7 separate regions of the Homo sapiens genome follow, and regions 1, 2, 3, 4, 5 and 7 are each linked to region 6. The links are contacts of gene promoters, found by promoter capture Hi-C in blood cells and fetal thymus (Javierre and others, 2016). All regions are on one chromosome and are shown on one strand. The core of a region is centred on a gene start or on the middle of the fragment in contact, and the rest is flanking DNA. Distances in the headings are between cores, read along the strand shown.

What was found. Contacts are between HindIII fragments. The CHiCAGO score rates a contact against its expected background, and 5 or more counts as called.
Region 1: a contact is called between a fragment that was not itself captured here and the fragment with the promoter of HSPA9 in region 6, in 12 of 17 cell types (monocytes, erythroblasts, fetal thymus and 9 more). The highest score is 13.5, in monocytes.
Region 2: a fragment that was not itself captured here is called in contact with the fragment with the promoter of HSPA9 in region 6 in 6 of 17 cell types (erythroblasts, megakaryocytes, naive CD8 T cells and 3 more); the score reaches 11.7 in erythroblasts.
Region 3: a contact is called between a fragment that was not itself captured here and the fragment with the promoter of HSPA9 in region 6, in 1 of 17 cell types (naive B cells). The highest score is 5.7, in naive B cells.
Region 4: a fragment that was not itself captured here is called in contact with the fragment with the promoter of HSPA9 in region 6 in 15 of 17 cell types (erythroblasts, megakaryocytes, monocytes and 12 more); the score reaches 20.6 in erythroblasts.
Region 5: a fragment that was not itself captured here is called in contact with the fragment with the promoter of HSPA9 in region 6 in 1 of 17 cell types (neutrophils); the score reaches 5.4 in neutrophils.
Region 7: a fragment that was not itself captured here is called in contact with the fragment with the promoter of HSPA9 in region 6 in 4 of 17 cell types (total CD8 T cells, megakaryocytes, monocytes and 1 more); the score reaches 6.5 in total CD8 T cells.

What each region holds. Positions count from the first base shown.
Region 1 is chr5:139,345,351-139,348,085 of GRCh38, reverse strand. The region is part of intron 1 of PAIP2 (poly(A) binding protein interacting protein 2); the gene reads right to left. Among named protein-coding and RNA genes, the nearest start is that of PAIP2, 4.9 kb to the right of the region's middle. The HindIII fragment of the contact is 8,536 bases long and covers 1-2,735 here.
Region 2 is chr5:139,307,827-139,310,767 of GRCh38, reverse strand. MATR3 (matrin 3) reads right to left here. Exons shown (of 15, transcript NM_018834.6): 2 at 2,441-2,941. Among named protein-coding and RNA genes, the nearest start is that of MATR3, 16 kb to the right of the region's middle. The HindIII fragment of the contact is 4,094 bases long and covers 1-2,941 here.
Region 3 is chr5:139,408,991-139,411,870 of GRCh38, reverse strand. DNAJC18 (DnaJ heat shock protein family (Hsp40) member C18) reads left to right here. Exons shown (of 8, transcript NM_152686.4): 8 at 1-1,668. Among named protein-coding and RNA genes, the nearest start is that of SPATA24, 6.3 kb to the right of the region's middle. The HindIII fragment of the contact is 414 bases long and covers 1,352-1,765 here.
Region 4 is chr5:139,324,124-139,327,002 of GRCh38, reverse strand. MATR3 (matrin 3) reads right to left here. Exons shown (of 15, transcript NM_018834.6): 13 at 1,341-1,563; 14 at 719-840. Among named protein-coding and RNA genes, the nearest start is that of PAIP2, 16 kb to the left of the region's middle. The HindIII fragment of the contact is 5,429 bases long and covers 1-2,879 here.
Region 5 is chr5:139,567,099-139,570,138 of GRCh38, reverse strand. The region is part of intron 1 of UBE2D2 (ubiquitin conjugating enzyme E2 D2); the gene reads right to left. Among named protein-coding and RNA genes, the nearest start is that of UBE2D2, 7.3 kb to the right of the region's middle. RefSeq lists an enhancer at 1,640-2,141. The HindIII fragment of the contact is 5,795 bases long and covers 1-3,040 here.
Region 6 is chr5:138,574,006-138,576,773 of GRCh38, reverse strand. It overlaps HSPA9 (heat shock protein family A (Hsp70) member 9), which reads left to right and starts at 1,373. Exons shown (of 17, transcript NM_004134.7): 1 at 1,373-1,536; 2 at 2,648-2,706. The coding sequence starts at 1,456. All of the region lies in intron 1 of LOC105379193 (a long non-coding RNA gene), which reads right to left. RefSeq lists enhancers at 779-918, 496-1,144, 1,059-1,338, 1,579-1,628, 1,145-1,792. The HindIII fragment of the contact is 10,827 bases long and covers 1-2,768 here.
Region 7 is chr5:139,364,995-139,367,902 of GRCh38, reverse strand. The region is part of intron 3 of PAIP2 (poly(A) binding protein interacting protein 2); the gene reads right to left. It overlaps SLC23A1 (solute carrier family 23 member 1), which reads left to right. Exons shown (of 15, transcript NM_005847.5): 15 at 272-707. Among named protein-coding and RNA genes, the nearest start is that of SLC23A1, 17 kb to the left of the region's middle. The HindIII fragment of the contact is 6,493 bases long and covers 1-2,908 here.

The sequences.
Region 1 (2,735 bases), core at 209-2,708, 770 kb before region 6:
CAACCTCTGCCTCCTGAGTAGCTGGAATTACAAGTGTGTAACACCATGCCTGTGCCTGGCTAATTTCTGTATTTTTAGTAGAGATGGGGTTTCACTATGTTGGCCAGGCTCGTCTAGAACTCCTGAACTCAGGTGATCCGCCCACCTCGGCCTCCCGAAGTGCTGGGATTACAGATATGAGCCACCACACTGGCCGAGTTGTTTCTTATATTCATCATCTTCCCCTAACTTCCTATCTTTGTAAAATAGTTCAAAAGGCTACCTGAGGATTTATCATTCTAAGCCAGTGTCCAAAACATCTTTTTTTTTTTTATGGATGTACCACAGTTTTTTAAAAATTATTATTATACTTTAAGTTTTAGGGTACATGTGCACAATGTGCAGGTTAGTTACATATGTATACATGTGCCATGCTGGTGTGCTGCACCCATTAACTCGTCATTTAGCATTAGGTGTATCTCCTAATGCTACAAAACATCTTTTGCCTTCATGTTTGAATAAAAATGTTGTATGGCCTGGCGTGGTGGCTCAGGCCTGTAATCCCACCACTTTGGGAGGCCAAGGTGGGTGGATCATTTGAGGTCAGGAGTTCTAGAAAAGCCCGGCCAATATGGTGAAACCTTGCCTCTACCAAAAATACAAAAATTAGCCGGGCATGGTGGTGGGCGCCTGTAGTGTCAGCTACTCAGGAGGCTGAGGCAGGAGAATCGCTTGAACTCGGGAGGTGGAGGTAGCAGTGAGCCAAGATCGCGCCACTGCACTCCAGCCTGGGCGACAGAGCGGAACTGTGTCTTAAAAAAAAAAAAAAAAAAAAAAAGTTGTAACATGAGTATTTCCATGTAAATGTGCTAAAAAAAAAATTAGTTGTAACAGAATTCTGAGATGTCTGTGCTTCCTGTTGATAATCTATTGTCAATAATTCCAACTTTCAATGTTGTAGAAAATCAATTTTCTTTCCTTTTAAAAATCCTGTTCTAGGCTGGGTGCAGTGGCTCACACCTATAATCCTAGCACTTTAGGAGGCCAAGGGAGGTGGATCACTTGAGGTGAGGAGTTTGAGACCGGCCCTGGCCAACATGGTGAAACCCCATCTCTAGTAATACAAAAACTAAGCCAGGCATGGTGGCGCACAGCTGTAGTCCCAGCTACTCGGGAGCCTGAGGCAGGAGCACTGCTTGAACCTGGGAGGCAGAGGTTGCAGTGAGCTGAGATGGTGCATTCCAGCCTGAGCAACAGACTGAGACTGCATCTCAAAAAATAAAAATAAGCTGGGCGCAGCAGCTCACGCCCAGCACTTTGGGAGGCCAAAGGGGGTGGATCACGAGGTCAAGAGATTGAGGCCATCCTGGCCAACTTGGGCGAAACCCCGTCTCTAAAAATGCAAAAATTAGCTGGACATGGAGGTGCACGCTTGTAGTCCCAGCTACTCGGGAGGCTGAGGCAGGAGAATTGCTTGAACCTGGGAGGCAGAGGTTGCAGTGAGCTGAGATGGTGCCACTGCATTCCAACCTGAGCATCAGAGGGAGACTGCATCTCAAAAAATAAAAATAGGCCAGGTGCGGTGGCTCACGCCTGTAATCCCAACACTTTGGGAGGCCAAGGGGGTGGATCATGAGGTCAAGAGATTGAGACCATCCTGGCCAACATGGTGAAACCCCGTCTCTAAAAATACAAACATTAGCTGGGCGTGGTGGCACATGCTTGTAGTCCCAGCTACTGGGGAGGCTGAGGCAGGAGAATCACTGGAACCTGGGAGGCGGAGGTTGCAGTGAGCCAAGATTGCGCCACTGCACTCCGGCCTGGTGACAGAGCAAATCTCCGTCTCAAAAAAATAAATAAAAATTTAAAAATCCTGTTCTAGACGACAGCTTAAGATGTTTTAACAAATTCATATATTTCACCAGATTTTGGATAGGTAAGAGCAATTTTTTCCCAGTACTACTGCCTGGAAGTCAGCAAACCCTTTCAATTTATCAACTTAGGGCTTTATTGTGTCTTCAGCTGTTTTTCCCCTCCTGAAATGCCTCTTAGACATATTGGTTTCCAGCAGTGTCCTTTTATATTGTCTATGGAATTTTAAAATACAGAAATCTTTTAGGTTTTACAATCTTTCTCCACTAGTTTCATCTTTTAAGAATTCTCATTAAAATTCAAATATAGGCCTGGTGCGGTGGCTCACGCCTGTAATCCCAGCACTTTGGGAGGCCGAGGTGGGCGGATCACAAGGTCAGGAGATTGAGACCATCCTGGCTAACACGGTGAAACCCCATCTCTCCTAAAAATACAAAAAATTAGCCAGGCATGGTGGCAAGCGTCTGTAGTCCCAGCTACTCAGGAGGCTGAGGCAAGAGAATGGCATGAACCCGGGAGGTGGAGCTTGCAGTGAAATGAGATCATGCCACTGCACTCAGGCCTGGGCAACAGAGCAAGACTCCGTTTCAAAAAAAAAAAAAAAAAAATTCAAGCATAGTTCTCTTCTGTTTCTTTCATTAATCTACCTCCATAGGCACCATCTTTTCTCATTCCCTTGGACTCTGTTTTGAACCACTGTGATCCTTACCTTATTTGCATATTTTTTAATCGTATTTTACGCATATATACGTTTAAGCATACTTCCTTTGGCAGTTAAAGAGGATCGCAACATTTTTCAATTGGTCTGTTTTCCACTCTGAAGTCTGTGAAAAGCACCGAATTTTTTGTTTTACTATTTGGCACAGTAAGGTAACGATTAAAAA
Region 2 (2,941 bases), core at 442-2,941, 730 kb before region 6:
CTAAAATGACCTATAAAGAAATAAAAACACCACCATCACTTTAAGTCACCTAAAAATAATGACACTCCATGACAAATTATTTTCAACTTAAGTTTCTTACTTCACAGTAAGAATTTTTGATCATGTAGACTATTTAACAATACCACTAAGTAAAAAGAACAGATTTTCCAAGTTATGCAGCAATACCAGAGAGCAGGATTAAATGTTTAAAAATTTTTCATTATCTACTTCCATCACAGAAATTTTCTCTAAGGTCATTTCTATAGCGGTTATAGAGGGTCCACTGCTAAAGTGAGTAAAGATTTTTTCAATATAATGCATATACGTAAAAAACATAGTAAAGCAACTAGAAAACTAGAAATTCAGATAATCCATGTGTTTAAACTTCTTAAAGTTGGTCCAATTTACACATTTAAACCACAGAATTAAACAAAAGGCCTCTAAAATAGTTCTCAAATGTACTCAGTATTTTGACAGAATACCAAAACTAGCTAGGACCTAAGCATTTTTACAGGCTAAAAGTACCTCTTGCACTAGGGTAGTGTATCTTACTCTTGAATCCATAGTTTCATCAAAATATGTAAAAACTGCTCTTTTGTTAATTTAGATCCATTTAAGTTATTAGCCTTCTTCAGGAACTAGAAAGTAGCAAAATTTGAAGGAAAAAAGCATAATCATACATAAAAACAGAAACTTTTCTCGAAGTCCTCTCATGGTTCCATTGTGTTCATGATGTCCCAACAGCTTAATGACTCCAGTAGCGAAGATTTTTTAAGTCCCTTCACATCACTCTCATTTGAGACACTTGTAACTATCTATTTTCCTCAGAATTTAGAGACCCTTTCTGAGAATATTGGTCATACTGACATTTCTGCTATTATTTCCTTATAAACAGGCAAGAAATAACGCAGAAAAAATTGGAGTCACCAGTGTTTAATGGACCTTTTCATTCTATGAATTCACACGGGACCTAAAATTTAAAGTTTAGTGCTGATCAGAAACTAAAATGAATTCCATGATATATTTAGTAGAGCCAACAAATTTAGGAAAAGGTAACACCCAAAACATATACCAATTAAAATTTGCTGGCTTTTGTGAGTCTGGGGTTGTATTTCTTAATGAAAATACATCTTCTTAAATGTTTAAATAAACCTAAATTTAGCATTTATGTTAATTTACTTTGGTACAGATTAAAGATTAAAAGACAAAAATACTGAGATCCAAACACAAGGAAAGGGAGTGACTGGTAATACTCTTTAACAGAATATTAAAAACAATGGTATGATTTAGTCTACTAAAAAAAAATCCATACTCATTTACTAAAAAATGCTTATCAAAGGATTAGCTATGAAAAGAAAATGACCCTTCCAGATGTTACTGTAAAGAAAAACCCTGTAACAGTAACCATCAAATCAATTTCATGGCAGCAACTTGTTCCAGTTAAGTAGAGCACATCAGGAAAAAATGGACGGTCACAGATTATAGATCAAGCTAGTGGGGTGCTATAACAATGACTTTAAGTCAACTGCACCATATATTGGGGGAAAAAAAGTCAGAATGAGTAACACTGAAAAAGTTGAAAGAGAAAGGACAACATATTTAAAAGGGCATTTTGAAAAAGTTCCCATTTTGCCAGATGTGATAATTAAAGCAAAGGAGAATTAGATTTTCTTTTCAAATGACTATTTCAGAAGTCTAAGCCTAACTCAGAAAAAGAATTTGTTTATGAGGAACACAGAGCAGGATACTGTAGTAGTTGATTTGTCCAAGTCTCTAAAGGGACAGATGTAACATGGGATAATAAAAAGTGAGTTTTGAAGTATGTTTAAGAAAGTTGTGGAAAAGGAGAAAAAAAATGATGAAAAATTTCAGTCATAGTATGAGAGTTTGTGTTAAAGGGAAATTAAAAAAGGAAGAATGAACTAATCTAAAATATGAAACATACTGAAACAAACACCAGGGCTCTACATTAACTCTTTCCCTGTAGCCACAGATAAGGAAAAAAAGAGAATTGTTCAAGAATACATCTTTACTACATACAAATCAGCAATCAAGACAGATGGAGAGCTGAAATCTAGCATCCTGAATGGCAGAGCACATTGACTGCAAAAAAAATACTTAAAACAATTCAACAAAGCAGACAAAAAAAACCTGCTTAAATATATGATTAAGAAGAACATATTGATGCCAAAAACCAACAAGATAATCTCAGTGGATGATAGCTTTGTGGCCAGAAGTAATCTAGGCAGAATATATTAATGTAAAGCCCTGGTTTAAAATGCTCAAAAACAATTACCTTCCAAATAAAGTAAGTGTTCTCAAAAGTTTAAAAATGCTTGATCAACTCAATGTCATCAGACTACAGAATTAGAGTCAAAGATATAGGTAAATAGGCACTACAATGTAAAAGAAATTAGAAGCATCTGTTGAGTTAACTCACCTTATTAGAATGAACTGGCAAATCACATATAGAGCACAGATGGGGATAACCCTTCGGTAAGAGTCCATGGAAGTCTTCAATATTGCTACTTGGAGGAGCGCCTCTCTTTTTCTCAAAGAGAGATCTCTCTTGTAAGGGGCCAGGACCACGTCCCATTCTCTCATACTCACTGTCAAATTTATGATAGTTATGCGAGGTCTCACCAAAAAAAGAATCATCCCTACACCTTTCTCCATCTCTTAATCTGTCATCTTCATAATCCATTCTGTCATAATAACCAGATTCTTGAGAACGACTTCCATGGTCATAATCAAGCACTGGGTTGAGACTAGGACCACGATCATCAAAACTATCTCTTCTAAAGTGCCTTTTTTCTTCCCAATCATCCCTAGGTACTCTGTATGGTGGCTCCCGTGTAGCAGATCTGCCATCTCTACCATAACTCAAGGTAGGGCCTTCTTCAGTTCTCCTCCTTTTAAGCTGTAGAAGGATTTGGGGCAA
Region 3 (2,880 bases), core at 309-2,808, 830 kb before region 6:
AATTGGCCATAATGAAACTGACTTGACAGGTTAAAAGACCCTGTCCTAGATGCCCAGGAATCAGGTAGTCACACATTTTATGGACTTCATGGCAGCGATAAGTAATCTGTGATGATACTAAATAGAAGCAATAATAACTAACTCCATTAAATGTCACGCTGATTGTCTGTTTTTATAGCACCGATGGTACTGTTTTATTTATTGCCAATAGACCACAACATTCACATCTGTTTTTCCTCAAGGGAACCGTATTTGCTTTTGGTTGAAGGATTTATCTATTTGATACTATCCAGAATATTGTGAAGCTATAATTTCCTGGGTTATATTTTAGATGGGTTGTCTGCATGGTGGTAAAATAAGCTTTTTCCTCTCGCCTACGTCCTTTGGAAGATCTCCTGATCATACATAACTAGGTAGGGCTTATTCTTGCTGCCGGAGCTTGGCACCCAGCTCTAGACTGTTTCTTTGAGCATTACTGCAGATTGGAGACGTGTGTGAGAGGAGCAGCGCTCAGAAATAGGGCTTGAGGCTCAAGCAGAAACTGAAGCTCTCATTCAAATGAAGATGCTCTCTCTACCGCACGATCGGCAGTGAGAAAAGGAGGATGAAAATCCTTCTCATCACAAAGAGCTTGAAGGAACCCACGTCCCCAGATTAGCAACCCTAGAGTTCATCTGCTCAGGCCGGGAAATGTGTAAGCTTCCTTGATCAGCTCCAGGCCTCACAGCACGGGAGCAGTGACCAGTAAGGAAACGTCACTGCTGTGCTTTCTGTTGGAAATTGTTCGAAAATACAGTGAACTGGCCAGGCCCAGTAGCTCATGCCTGTAATCCCAGCACTTTGAAAGGCTGAGGCAGGCAGATCATTTGAGGTCAGGAGTTCCAGACCAGCCTGGCCAACATGGTGAAACCCTGTCTGTACTAAAAATACAAAAATTAGGCGGGCATGGTAGCACGTGTCTGTAATCCCAGCTCCTCAGGAGGCTGAGGCAGAAGAATCTCTTGAGCCTGGGAGGCAGAGGTTGCAGTAAGCTGAGATCACATCATTGCACTCCAGCCTGGGTGACAGAGCAAGACTCTGTCTCAAAAAAAAAAAAAGAAAGAAAAAAGAAAATACAGTGAACTCCAGATGCCACTGGAACATGGGTTCCAGCAGCCTGGCCAAGCTATGTGTCATTCTTTTTCCTCATGATACCCAGGATGGGCTTTGTGAGGAGGCACTGTGCCGTTCCAGTGGCTTTCTGTTACAGCTGGCCACACCATACAAGCAAGTACATCATCTGCATGCACTGCTCCTCACAGGAGCTTGCACTTCATTCATATTTATTCTGCCCTCATTTAAGGTATAAGCTTAGTGTCCTAATATATTTATTTTTGGAAAGGGCCAAGTTACAAAACATCTTTTTTTTGAGGCTGCACTGTTGATATGTCATGCAGTGGCCACCAAGAAAGTATATACTCGTGTTAGATACTGATTACATCATTTACATCACGCTCAGTATTTGGAATTAAAGATGTGAATGTTCTGTGACCAGAGTAGGGATGACACAAATGGAATCAGCTCCTGGTGGACTAAGAATCTTGAAAAAATCTGGCCACCTCATCCACTACATCTGGATTGAGTGTACTGCAACAAAGAAAAACATTAAACAATTTTATATTAAAAGAATGGCTACTTTTCCTTGGTTCTTTTACCTTTGCCCATGGCATCCTTGGCCACTGCACATCGCCTGACTCCCTTGGAGCCACTTCCGACTAAAGAAGCTTTTGACGCCTGCTCCAGTCTTCCCTCACCCGTCAGTGGGATTATTTGCATTTAGAATAGTAGATAGCATTGTTGGCATCAGTTCCACATTTTCTATCAGATAACAGCAGCTGCAGTACCTCACAGCCAATATACAGATCAAAACTACACTTAGCATCAGAAATTCAGGTGTTATCCCAGTTCCTTGCTGGCTTTGGTCCTAGTGGCCCATATTTAGGAAAGTTTTGGTTTAAAAATATAGTAAATGATATTTACATGATCCTAACTGGTCATGATAGCTTTCATTTGAAAAAGAAAGTGAGATGAGATTCAATTCAGCAATGATTGAGAACTTACTCTGAGCCAGGTGGGCTGGGTTTTTGGAATGGGGGTCAGGGAACAGGTGAGGCCCAGCACCAAGACTCCTGGAGCTCACATCTAATGGGGAGGCCAGGCTTTCCACAGCACTCCCCAGTGCAATGAATAGCTAAAGGGAGACCAAGGTGACCACAGACTGTATAACAAAGGGATTTAACCCAGTCTGAGGGGTCAGTGAAAGCAACTCTGAGGAAGAAATATGTGAAATATAATCACCCTTCCTACAGAGATGAGTAGATTTTTATTTAGTGAAGGAGAACGGAAGCAAGACTTCCAGTGCTCCCATTACCATCACTAGCACTTCCACCCATCCAAGTGCCAAAGTCAGCAACCCAAGCCAGGCACGGTTTTGCACACCTGTATCCCAGCTACCTCCAGAGGCTGAGGTGGGAGGATCACTTGAGGCCAGGACCTTGAGACCAGCCTGAGTGATATAGCAAGACCCCGTCTCTAACAATAAAATTAAAAAGTTGGCCAGGCACAGTGGCTCACACCTGTAACCCCAGCACTTTGGGAGGCTGAGGTGGGTGGATCACCTGAGGTCGGGAGTTTGAGACCAGCCTGACCAACATGGAGAAACCCCCATCTCTACTAAAAATACAAGAATTAGCCAGGCATGATGGCGGGTGTGTGTAATCCCAGCTATCAGGAGGCTGAGGCAGAAGAATCGCTTGAACCTGGGAGTCGGAGGTTGCAGTGAGCCGACATTGCACCATTGCACTCTAGTCTGGGCGACAGAGTAAGACTCCGTCTCAAAAA
Region 4 (2,879 bases), core at 83-2,582, 750 kb before region 6:
ACTTTTGGTCATAAAAATAACTGAAGTGTCAATAATAATGTCAATATTAAAAATTATTTTAATATGAATGGTCATGCCACTTTTAGTATTCAGACTCCCAGCATCTTTCAAATTAGAGAAAGTACAGCCCAACAACAATCTGAGAATACTTGAATAAGTTTAATTCTACCACAGAATTTATAATATGGTTAGAAAACACTAAATTGTTATGTAGCAAGGGTAAACTATGACAAGAGGTTCAACAGATGTTTTGATAACCCATCAATAAAGAAAGAAAAGGCCAGGCGCGGTGGCTCATGCCTGTAATCCCAGCACTTTGGGAGGCTGAGGTGGGTGGATCACCTGAGGTCAGGAGTTCAAGACCAGCCAGGCTAGCCAACATGGTGAAACCCCATTTCTACTAAAAATACAAAAATTAGCTGGGTGTGGTGGTGCATGCCTGTAATCTCAGCTACTTGGGAGGCTGAGGCAGGAAAATTGCTTGAACCCAGGAGGTAGAGGTTGCAGTGAGCCAAGATTGCACCATTGCAATCCAACCTGGGCAACAAGAGAGAAACTGTCTTTAAAAAAAAAAAAAAAAGTAAATAAAAAGTTATCTTCAGGAGAAAGCACTGCACTGAGTCTAGAGAGAACACTATACACATTTTACTTATATACCCCACTTATTTCCATAACTTGTTAAGTTTTCACAAAAGAACTGTTTTACATTCAACCTTACCTTTAATTTCTGATAATGAGGAAGGCTGCTGCAATGAGTATTCTTTGCAACTTCTTCATTTGTATAAAAGAGTGAACACAGCTTACAGTAAAACCCTGTTTTAGGTATCACATAGTCTATACCTAGAAATACAAACATACATTCTTACAAATTAAACTGAAGATTTTATTTAGTATTCACAATTTCACCTGTCAACATAATTTAAATGAAACAACATGTTTTTGAGAAGTCCAATACAGCCTAAGATAAAAAACAAAAACCGAACCATATTTTGCTTTTACCTAATTGATGTTTGAGGTCTCACCTAACTGTATTCTTAAAAAAAGAAATATAATACAGAAAAACAACACAGAAAAGCAAAACAAAAGCGTGTAACTTGCAAGAAATTTTACGAAAAAAGGGAACACATTGTGGAATAACAACAGAAAATAATACAAAATCAGAGACATGCATGAGAGGAAAATATATCAATTAAGATTTATAAATTGTTCCCCATAGAAACAAAGCAAATTTAAAATGCTATCACAGCTTATGTAAGACCAACTTTAAAATCTTATTTTAAAACCTAAGAGTTTGTTTTGAGGAGAGTGAGGAAGGTGAAGAACAAAGACTTAAATCTCACCAACAGGAACATTGGGCTGATATGGTCCAATTCTATACTCATCTGGGATTGTATAGTCGTCCTTGTTCTCATCACTTTGACCATCTGCGTTTTCACTTGTATCTTTGTTGGGATCATCAGCGTTCTCAGAAGATTCAGCACCTGGTTCTGTGTTTTCCTCATTTTTAATTCCATTTTCCAACGCTGCTTCGTTTTCTTGATCAAGTTCCTCGATCTTGTCCACCTTAATTTCAACCAAACCATCATCATTTTTGTCACCAGATTTAAATGCCATGCCCGATTTACGAAGTTTCTGAAGTTCCGAATCTTCCTCATCACCAACCTCATCTAGAGTGACAAAACCTTCCATACTCCCTGGAAAACGACGCTGTTAAGAAAGACAAATTTACTCTGCAACAATTATCCTGCAGCATCCCTTCTGTCTGCTTTACTTGAAGGGAAACGGATAGCGTCTTTGCCTTTTTTTTTTTGAGACGGAGTCTTGCTCTGTCGACCAGGCTGGGGTGCAGTGGCGCGATCTCGGCTCACTGCAACCTCCGCCTCCCTGGTTCACGCCATTCTCCTGCCTCAGCCTCCCGAGTAGCTGGGACTACAGGCGCACGCCACCACGCCCGGCTAATTTTTTTTGTAATTTTAGTAGAGACGGGGTTTCACTGTGTTAGCCAGGATGGTCTCGATCTCCTGACCTCGTGATCCACCCACCTCGGCCTCCCAAAGTGCTAGGATTACAGGCGTGAGCCACCGTGCCCGGCCGCGTCTTTGTCTTTATTCATTGGCTCAAAATAGTAACTTCTTCCTTTCTTCCAAAAAATTACTGATAATTTGAAAAATAATTTAGCTTATTTTAAAACTAAAAAATGGAAGGTCTGCCTCACACAAAGAGCAGAAGTTAAATGAGATAGGAATATTCATATTTTATCTTTTCTGAGACTACAATGCTGCTAGGCAATGTGTAAAAAACTTGATTTGGTAAAAGTTGAGCAATATCCTTTGTAAGACAGTATACTGCAAATACCTACTCTTTAGAGCAAATACTCAAACAGTGTAATGGCTAAAAAACCAAGCTCTGGGCCAGGCATGGTGGCTCACACCTGTAATTCCAGCACTTTGGGAGGCTGAGGTGGGCGGATCACCCTGAGATCTCAGGAGTTCAATACCAGCCAGGCCAACATGGCGAAACCTCGTTTCTACTAAAAATACAAGAATTAGCCTCGTGTGGTGGTGGACACCTGTAATCCCAGCTACTTGGGAGGCTGAGGCAGCAGAACTTGAACCTGGGAGGTGGAGGTTGCAGTTAGCTGAGATCACACCACCGCACTCCAGCCTGGGCAACAGAGCAAGACTCCGTCTCCAAAAAAAAAAAAAAAAAAAACAATCATGCTCTGAAGAATGACTGCCCAAGTTTAAATTTTGGCTCTGTGTCTTATAAGCAGTATGGGATTATTTAACTTCTCCATATTTCAATTTTCCTCATTTATGGACTGGAGATCACAGTATGAGATGCATATGGTTACTGTGAGGATTAAATTAATAAATTTA
Region 5 (3,040 bases), core at 106-2,605, 990 kb before region 6:
CACATCACCATGCCCAGCTAATTTTGTTTCACTTTGTTTCGCTTTTGTAGAGACAGGGTCTCCCATTACAGACCAAGCTGGTCTTGAACTCCTAGGTACAAGCAATCCTCCCACCTTGGCCTCCCAGTGTTGGGATTACAGGCATGAGCCACTGTGTCAAGCCTAAATTTGCAGTTTCAAGCAGTATGAGCAACCTTGCCAATCATATAAAGGGAAGTTGAGGAAGATCTTCAGGTTCCAGGACACAGTTTAAATATCCAATTGTTTGAACAAAAGAAAAAAGGCTGCATCCTCTGGATTTATATACCTAACAGCTATGTAAGGATAACACATGGCTTGCCAGAAAATACACTGGACAGTCCAGAAATCCAGGTTCTCAATTCAGACCTACTCTTACCTGGTAGGTCACACGGCCTTTCCAGACAGCAGCCCTGAGATGTGCTGCAGTGCTAACATTTTATGATTCTATTACCCAAAATCTCACTTGACTCTGCAGACAGAAGAACAAACACTACTTTATTTCCCTATATTATAGTTTAACATGATTTTGAAGGTTTGCCTGGAAATCTAACCATCAAAACTTTATTTCTACAGACAAAACAAGTGTGTTTCTGCATTTCTGGGATGAGGCTGCAAAGGTTCCTGGTAGCATGAGGCATGAGTCAGATACTCCTATCCTGGGAACTGCCTAGGATATTTTAAGAGAAATATACAGAATTGGACCTTGTCAAAACCTCTTCCTTGTCAGTCATCAGTACAGTAATATACACTGGGAGACTTCAGAGAAAACCTAGATTTATTAACAGTTATCCTCGATGGCTGTTTGAATTATATTTAAATAACAATCTAGTAGAGCCAAAGAAAGTGCCTTAATTCAATGATCTTTTGTAAAGGAAATAAAAAATACTTTTTTAGTGGGGAAAAAAAAATTCCCAGAACTTATGTGAAGAAGCTCACCTTTTGGAGTAAGAAGGTATCCAAGATAGAACTATCCAAGATAGAACTAATTTAAATAGCCATATTCAGACAACCATTTATTAAAGTTCCCAATACTCCACAGGACTACCTGTTAATTCATCATTTTGATAGGAATTCAATCAGTCCTTACCTCTAATATTAATCTAATATATGGTACCACACCTCTAGTACAGTATTTTTTTTTCTTTTTTGAGACGGAGTCTTGCTCTGTTGCCCAAGCTGGACTGCAGTGGTGCGATCTCAGCTCACCACAACCTCCACCTCCCGGGTTCAAGCAACTCTCTGCCTTAGCCTCCCCAGTAACTGGGATCACAGGTGCTCACCACCATGCCCGGCTAATTTTTATATTTTTAGTAGAGACAGGGTTTCACCATCTTGACTAGGCTGGTATTGAACTCCTGACCTCGTGATCCACTCACCTCGGCATCCCAAAATGCTGGGATTACAGGCGTGAGTCACCGCGCCCGGCCTACAGTATTTTTTATTTTCATTTTTTTCTTTTTCTAGACAGAGTTTCGCTCTGTCGCCCAGGCTAGAATGCAGCGGCGCGATCTCCACTTACTGCAAGCTCTGCCTCCCGGTTCACGCCATTCTCCTGCCTCAGTCTCCCGAATAGCTGGGACTACAGGCACCTGCCACCACACTGACTAATTTTTTGTATTTTTAGTAGAGATGGGGTTTCACCGTGTTAGCCAGGATGGTCTCGATTTCCTGACCTTGTGATCCACCTGTCTTGGCCTCCCAAAGTGCTGGGATTACAGGCATGAGCCACAGCGCCCAGCCCGGCCTACAGTATTTTTAAGCAATTTTTTTTTTTTTGAGATGGAGTCTCGCTGTTGCAAAGGCTGGAGTGCAGTGGCGAGATCTTGGCTCACTGCAACCTCTGCCTCCCAGGTTCAAGCAACTCTCCTGCCTCAGCCTCCTGAGTAGCTGGGATTACAGGTGAGTGCCACCACACCTGGCTAATTTTTGTATTTTTAGTAGAGACAGGGTTTCACCATATTGGGCAGGCTGGTCTCGAACTCCTGACCTCAGGTGGTCGGCCCGCCTCAGCCTCCCAAAGTACTGGGGGATTACAGGCATAAGCCACCGCACCCAGCCTAAGCAATTTTTTAAAATACAGTACTGTTCAGCGTTACAACTACTTTCTTTAAGATCATGCTTCGGTAACTTCCCAATCTCAGACATTTTCAAAGTGTATTGTCAGTCTACAGAGAAACTCAAAACATGAAACAGATCATAATGGAAGAGTAATACATAAACTTCTACGGGATCAATGTATTTACAAAACTGGTTTTCCCAAGACCTCACACAAAACCATACAAAAGGCGGGGCACAGTGGCTCACGCCTGTAATCCCAGCACTTTGGGAGGTCGAGGCGGGTGGATCACTGGAGGTCAGGAGTTTGAGACCAGCTTGGCCAACATGGTGAAACCCCGTCTCTACTGAAAATACAAAAAGTAGCTGGGCATGGGGGTGCATGCCTGTAGTCCCAGCTACTCGGGAGACTGAGGCAGGAGAATGGCGTGAACCCAGGAGGCAGAGCTTGCAGTGAGCCGAGATTGTGCCACTGCACTCCAGCCTGGGCAACAGAGCGAGACTCTATCTCAAAAAAAAAAAAAAAAAAAAAACTTAGCAAATTGGCTGGGTGCAGTGGCTCATCCCTGTAATCCCAGCACTCTGGGAGGCCAAGGCGGGCAAATCACCTGAGGTCTCAAAAAAAAAAAGCAAGTTAATTAGAATTGTATTTAAAAACTACTTAAGGCCGGGCACGGTGTCTCATGCTTGTATTCCCAGCACTTTGGGAGGCCGAAGCAGGTGGATCACAAGGTCAGGAGTTCGAGACCAGCCTGGCCAATATGGTGAAACCCCGTCTCTACCAAAAATACAAAAATTAGCTGGGCGTGGTGGTGCGAGCTTGTAGTCTCAGCTGCTCGGGAGGCTGACGCAGGAGAATTGCTTGAACCTGGGAGGCGGAGGTTGCAGTGAGCCGAGATCATGCCACTGCACTCCAGCCTGGGCGACAGAGCAAGACTCCATCTCAAAAACAAACAAACAAGAA
Region 6 (2,768 bases), core at 124-2,623:
TCTACCAAAAATATAAAAATTAGCTGGGCGTGGTGGCGCGCGCCTGTAATCCCATCTACTTGGGAGGCTGAGGCAGGAGAATAGCTTGAACCAGGGAGTCAGAGGTTGCAGTGAGCCGAGATGGCGCCACTGCACTCAAGCCTGGCGACAAAGACTGCCTCAAAAAAAAAAACAAAAACCTAAAAACTGGTCACAGGGTAGTGAAGTAGTTGACATCCTGCCACCAGCACAAGGTTTAAAAAGGGCCAGAGGAGTCTCAAGTCAGGCCCAGCACAGTGGGGAGAGGAAGAGCCTGAAGCTCAGCTATTTTTCTTTTTTTTCTTGAGACGGAGTCTCGCTCTGTCGCCCAGGCTGGAGTGCAGTGGCGCGATCTCGGCCCACTGCAAGCTCCGCCTCCCGGGTTCACGCCGTTCTCCTGCCTCAGCCTCCCGAGTAGCTGGGACTACAAGCGCCTGCCACCACGCCCGGCTACTTTTTCGTATTTTCAGTAGAGACGGGGTTTCACCGTGTTAGCCAGGATGGTCTCGATCTCCTAACCTCGCGATCCGCTCGCTTCGGCCTCCCAAAAGTGCTGGGATTACAGGCGTGAGCGCCCGGCCAAGCTCAGCTATTTTTTTTTCCCTTTGTGCAGGCTAATTGGCCTAATGTTCTGTGTGAATCAAACGCTTCGTAGTTGGAAACCCAAGACCCCTGTGATAAAACGCAACACGAAATTGTTTAACGTCTGTCTGCATATCCAAGTGTCTTTCAAGTTGTGAACAACGGGCGGGACCAAACAACAAAAGTACTGACGTCCTCACTTCACAAAGCCACAAGACAAGATGGCGCCGTCCTCCAGGAGCGGGAGCTGGGAACACGTCCACGCCCGGGGGGTGTGCACGCGCCCGGGCTCGCCCCAGGGAACGCTGGCGTGCACTCGGGCACCCAGTGAGCGCCGCAGTTAGTCTCCACCCATGTTTTCCGCCACTCCTTGCGCACATGCGCTCTAGGTTCTTAGCTGGATGTCTGTTGCGCCAACAGGCTCCTCCTCCCGCGCAACTGACGCAAGAAGACTGTAATCGGTTCGCAATTTATCCCGTGTGACCTTGAGTCTTTCCTGTCGCCGAGGACCGGGGCTGTCCGAGATACGGCCTTCATATCCCTCTTCCTCCCCTGGACTCTTTCTGAGCTCAGAGCCGCCGCAGCCGGGACAGGAGGGCAGGCTTTCTCCAACCATCATGCTGCGGAGCATATTACCTGTACGCCCTGGCTCCGGGAGCGGCAGTCGAGTATCCTCTGGTCAGGCGGCGCGGGCGGCGCCTCAGCGGAAGAGCGGGCCTCTGGGCCGCAGTGACCAACCCCCGCCCCTCACCCCACGTGGTTGGAGGTTTCCAGAAGCGCTGCCGCCACCGCATCGCGCAGCTCTTTGCCGTCGGAGCGCTTGTTTGCTGCCTCGTACTCCTCCATTTATCCGCCATGATAAGTGCCAGCCGAGCTGCAGCAGCCCGTCTCGTGGGCGCCGCAGCCTCCCGGGGCCCTACGGCCGCCCGCCACCAGGTGAGGAACTGGGACCTTCCCGAATGGGGTCACGGCCTCGGGCCTTGGGCCTCGGGCTTCGCTGCGGCAGGCCGCGCGCCCTTTAGGGTTTGAATTCTCCAGTATAGGTCAGGCGGGAAGGAAGGTAACGGGCCTTCCATAGTTAGCGCTGCCGGGTCAAGATTTTGCCCAAGGTTTTGCCTCCGGCTTGGGCCCTGCTGAGTCACACCCCTCGCGATCTAGAGTGTCATTTCAAAATTACCAGGTAGTGGTCCTCATGGCCTGTTCTGTGGCTGAATGGAAAGGTTTGGCCTTGGGGGTGAGGGATGCAGTCTATTGGGAAAGCCACTATTTTCAGTTTTATTTTTGGCTCCTCTACAGAATACAGAGTGTGTAAGGATCCCGTTGATACGGTGAAATAAAATAAGAAAGCTCTGAGTCGGAACTCCAGTTTTCGTGCTTAGCAACATTTTCTCAAAATCTGTGGTGTAAGATTGTACTCGTTTGTTACTTCAGAAAAAAAAGCAGATCGTGGGGCGGAGAAAAGGCTATGGAGTGGTTACTTGTTTTCTAAAATAAAAGACAAATGCTTTAGAGAACAGGAATTGTATGTGGGCATTAAGGAAGGCTTGGAAGGAGCCTGAGGTTAAGTTGTAATAAAGGTCTTTTATCCTAGTGAAACGCCACTACTTTTCTTTTTTCTTTCAAAGACCCTTAGTAACTCTAGTTCTTTTAAACTAATTGCACGGCAAGGTAAGGGGAAGTGTTTTCCCCCAGGGGACATCTGGCAATGTCTGTGGATATTTTAGGTTGTCACTTACTTACTGGGGTGCTTATTGGTTTCTAGGGTGTCGAGGCCAGGGATGCTGCTGTATATCCTACAATGCACAGAACAGCCCCCACCACAAAAATTTCGCCCAAAATTAATAGCGCCACGGTTGAGAAATCCTACTGTAATGTGATTCTAAGGCCATCTTTTATTTACCTTTTTTCGTCTTACTTATTTGGGAAACTTTAATATTTACTGTTTTAGTAGCTTAATGTATTTTATATACTAAGTGAGCCCAAGTTTTCTCTTTTTCCTCCCAGGATACACACTGGTTGGTGACTGAGTCAGTTTTTTCTTTTTTAGGATAGCTGGAATGGCCTTAGTCATGAGGCTTTTAGACTTGTTTCAAGGCGGGATTATGCGTAAGTATAATATCATTTCCTTTGAGAGGGAATACATATTAAACTTCAAAGCAGTGTTTTCT
Region 7 (2,908 bases), core at 81-2,580, 790 kb before region 6:
AAAGAGAAAATAGGAATTGAAATTCAGTTTGCTTAAGTGTAACCAGAAATCCAGTAACTTCACATAAGTTAAAGGAATAGCACGGAACAAGGAATTCTGTTAATCGAACTATGGTATGTAGCTTTCTTTAAACACTAAATACCAAGGAACCATGTTAAACAAGTGTTGAAATTATGATTAAAGTAACTGGGGAATTGCTGATTTTACTTTAGAATCCTCACTAAAAATGTGGAGTTGTTTTTCTACAATTGCCATCTTCTAATTCCCACAGGAAGCATGGTATATAACAGGAAAAGAAAACTACATGGGGAACCAGAAGACCTAAGCCTGAAATCCCAGCCCTGCCCCTAACTAACTTCTGTGTAAACTCAGATAAGTCACCTTTCTCTGGGATTCAAATTTTTGCATCAGTTAAAAAAAAAGGGGTGGGGGGGAATGGGCCAAAGTCTGAGTCTTAGAGACTTGTACCAATGTTATGCTATGTCTCTAAATCTTTACTCTCCTAAGTAGACTTGTCAGCATCTAGGAAGAACAGCTAGAAATTTTCCTCTGTGATATTTTAGACTGCAAGTTGAAAAAAATAAAAAGAAATGAGGGCAGGTTCCAGGGCCTGAAATGTAGGTATGCTGCAAGGCTTTTACATTGAATTTGACCCTACATCACTTCAAGACTAATGCATAATATTAAACATCATGTTGAAGAAATAATTTTAGTTTCGTAATTTATACATAGCAGTTTCTTTGGACAGGATATATTCTCCCTTCCCCCAAGGGAAATAATGTATCTACATTTTAAAAGTGTGAAGTTTAAGAAAAAAAAGCAGCATTCCTTTTCTCTTTTTTTGAGACATGGACTCGCTCTGTTGCTTAGACTGGAGGGCAGCGGAACAATCACAGCTCACTGCAGCATCGGCCTCCTGGGCTCAAGTGATCCTCTGGCCTCTGCCTCCCAAGTACCTGGGACCACAGGCCTGTGCCACCACACCCAGCTAACTTTAAACTTTTTGTAGAAACAGGGTCTCCCTTTGTTGCCCAGGCTGGTCTCGAACTCCTGGGCCAAAGTAATCTTCCCACTTTGGCCTCCCAAAGTGCTGGGATTACAAGCATGAGCCACCACATCCAGGCACAGTGTTCTTAAATGAACAATTTTCTGGGAGCAACAGAAGAATGAAACAAAGTAATATCAAATAGACTGAGAAGAACAAACCAGCTTCTGTACTATGGAATTATACTGGGTCCAGATTAAAGTTATACATTATGCTCAGCCAAGAGTGTTACTCTGCAGGGCAACTGGATTATTTATGGTGACTAATGTAGCCGTAAGTAATCATACCCCCCTCCAGACTATTCAGATCATACAGCTGCTCAAATGGGTTACCATCACTTACTGCAACAAAGGCTATATACCACAATGTAAACTTCAGTGCTCTCTACACCATCCTTTAGAAGAATGGTTTCCAAATGACCGACTCAGGCAAGTTGGCTGTATAATAAATCCTCTGTAGTACTTTTAAAAAATTAACATGCCCAGACAACTGAGCATGTTGGGATGTAACTAAAGAACTGATTTTTGTATTTAATGCTTCATAGGTAATCATGGTGTACAGATTAGTTCAGTGGACCCAGCCAGTTCTCACTCTAGTGCTGATGTTTAGTTATCACAATTCCCCCCACCCCGCTTTTTTTTTTTTTTTTTTTTTTGAGGTGGAGTCTCACTCTGTCGCCCAGGCTAGAGTGCAACGACACCATCTTGGTTCACCACAACCTCCACCTCCCAGATTCATGCGATTCTCCTGCCTTAGCCTCCCAGGTAGCTGGGATTACAGGCACGCACCACCACAACCAGCTAATTTTCTGTATACTTTTAGTAGAGACGGGGTTTCACCATGTTGGTCAGGCTGGTCTCGAACTCTTGACCTCGTGATCCGCGTGCCTCGGCGTCCCAAAGTGTTGGGATTACAGGCATGAGCCACTGCACCCAGCCAAGACAAGATTAAAGAGCAAAACTTCTCCATCAAGCTACTTCTGTATAGGCAAGTAACATGATAATATTGTGTGTGTTTTTAAATTATTAATTCTTTAGGACATTTAAGTACCCTAGGGCAACATCAGGACTAAAAGCAGGGGCTAGAAGTCCGTCTAAGACTAGCTCTACAGTGTTGCCGGAAGTGATTCCATGTCGTGAGACTCTGCTTCCATTGTAAAAAGCAGCACAATTCCTTTTTCCTTTTTTTTTTTTTGAGACAGTCTTGCTGTGTCACCCACGCTGGAGTGCAGTGGCGTAATCTCGGATCACTGCAACCTCTGCCTTCCAGGTTGAAGCGATTCTCCTGCCTCAGCCTCCCAAGTAGCTGGAACTACAGGCGCCCGCCACCATGTCCAGCTAATTTTTGTATTTTTTTTTTCTTTTTTTTGAGTCAGAGTCTCACTCTGTTGCCCAGGCTGGAGTGCAATGGTGCGATCTCCACTCACTGCAACCTCCGCCTCCCAGATTCAAGCAATTCTCCTGCCTCAGCCTTTTGAGTAGCTGGGATTACTTACAGGCATGCACCACCACACCCAGCTAATTTTTGTAATTTTAGTACAGATGGGGTTTCACCACGTTGGCCAGGCTGGTCTTGAACTCCTGACCTCAGGTGATCCACCCACCTCGGCCTCCCAAAGTGCTGGAATTAAAGGCATGAGCCACCGTGCCTGGCCAAATTTTGTATTTTTTATTCTATTTATTTATTTATTTATTTATTTATTTATTTATTTATTTAATAGAGTTTCACTCTTGTTGCCCAGGCTGGAGTGCAATGGTGCAATCTCAGCTCACCACAACTTCCGTCTCCCGGGTTCAAGCGATTCTCCTGCCTCAGCCTCCCGAGTAGCTGGGATCACAGGCATGTGCTACCATGCCCGGCTAA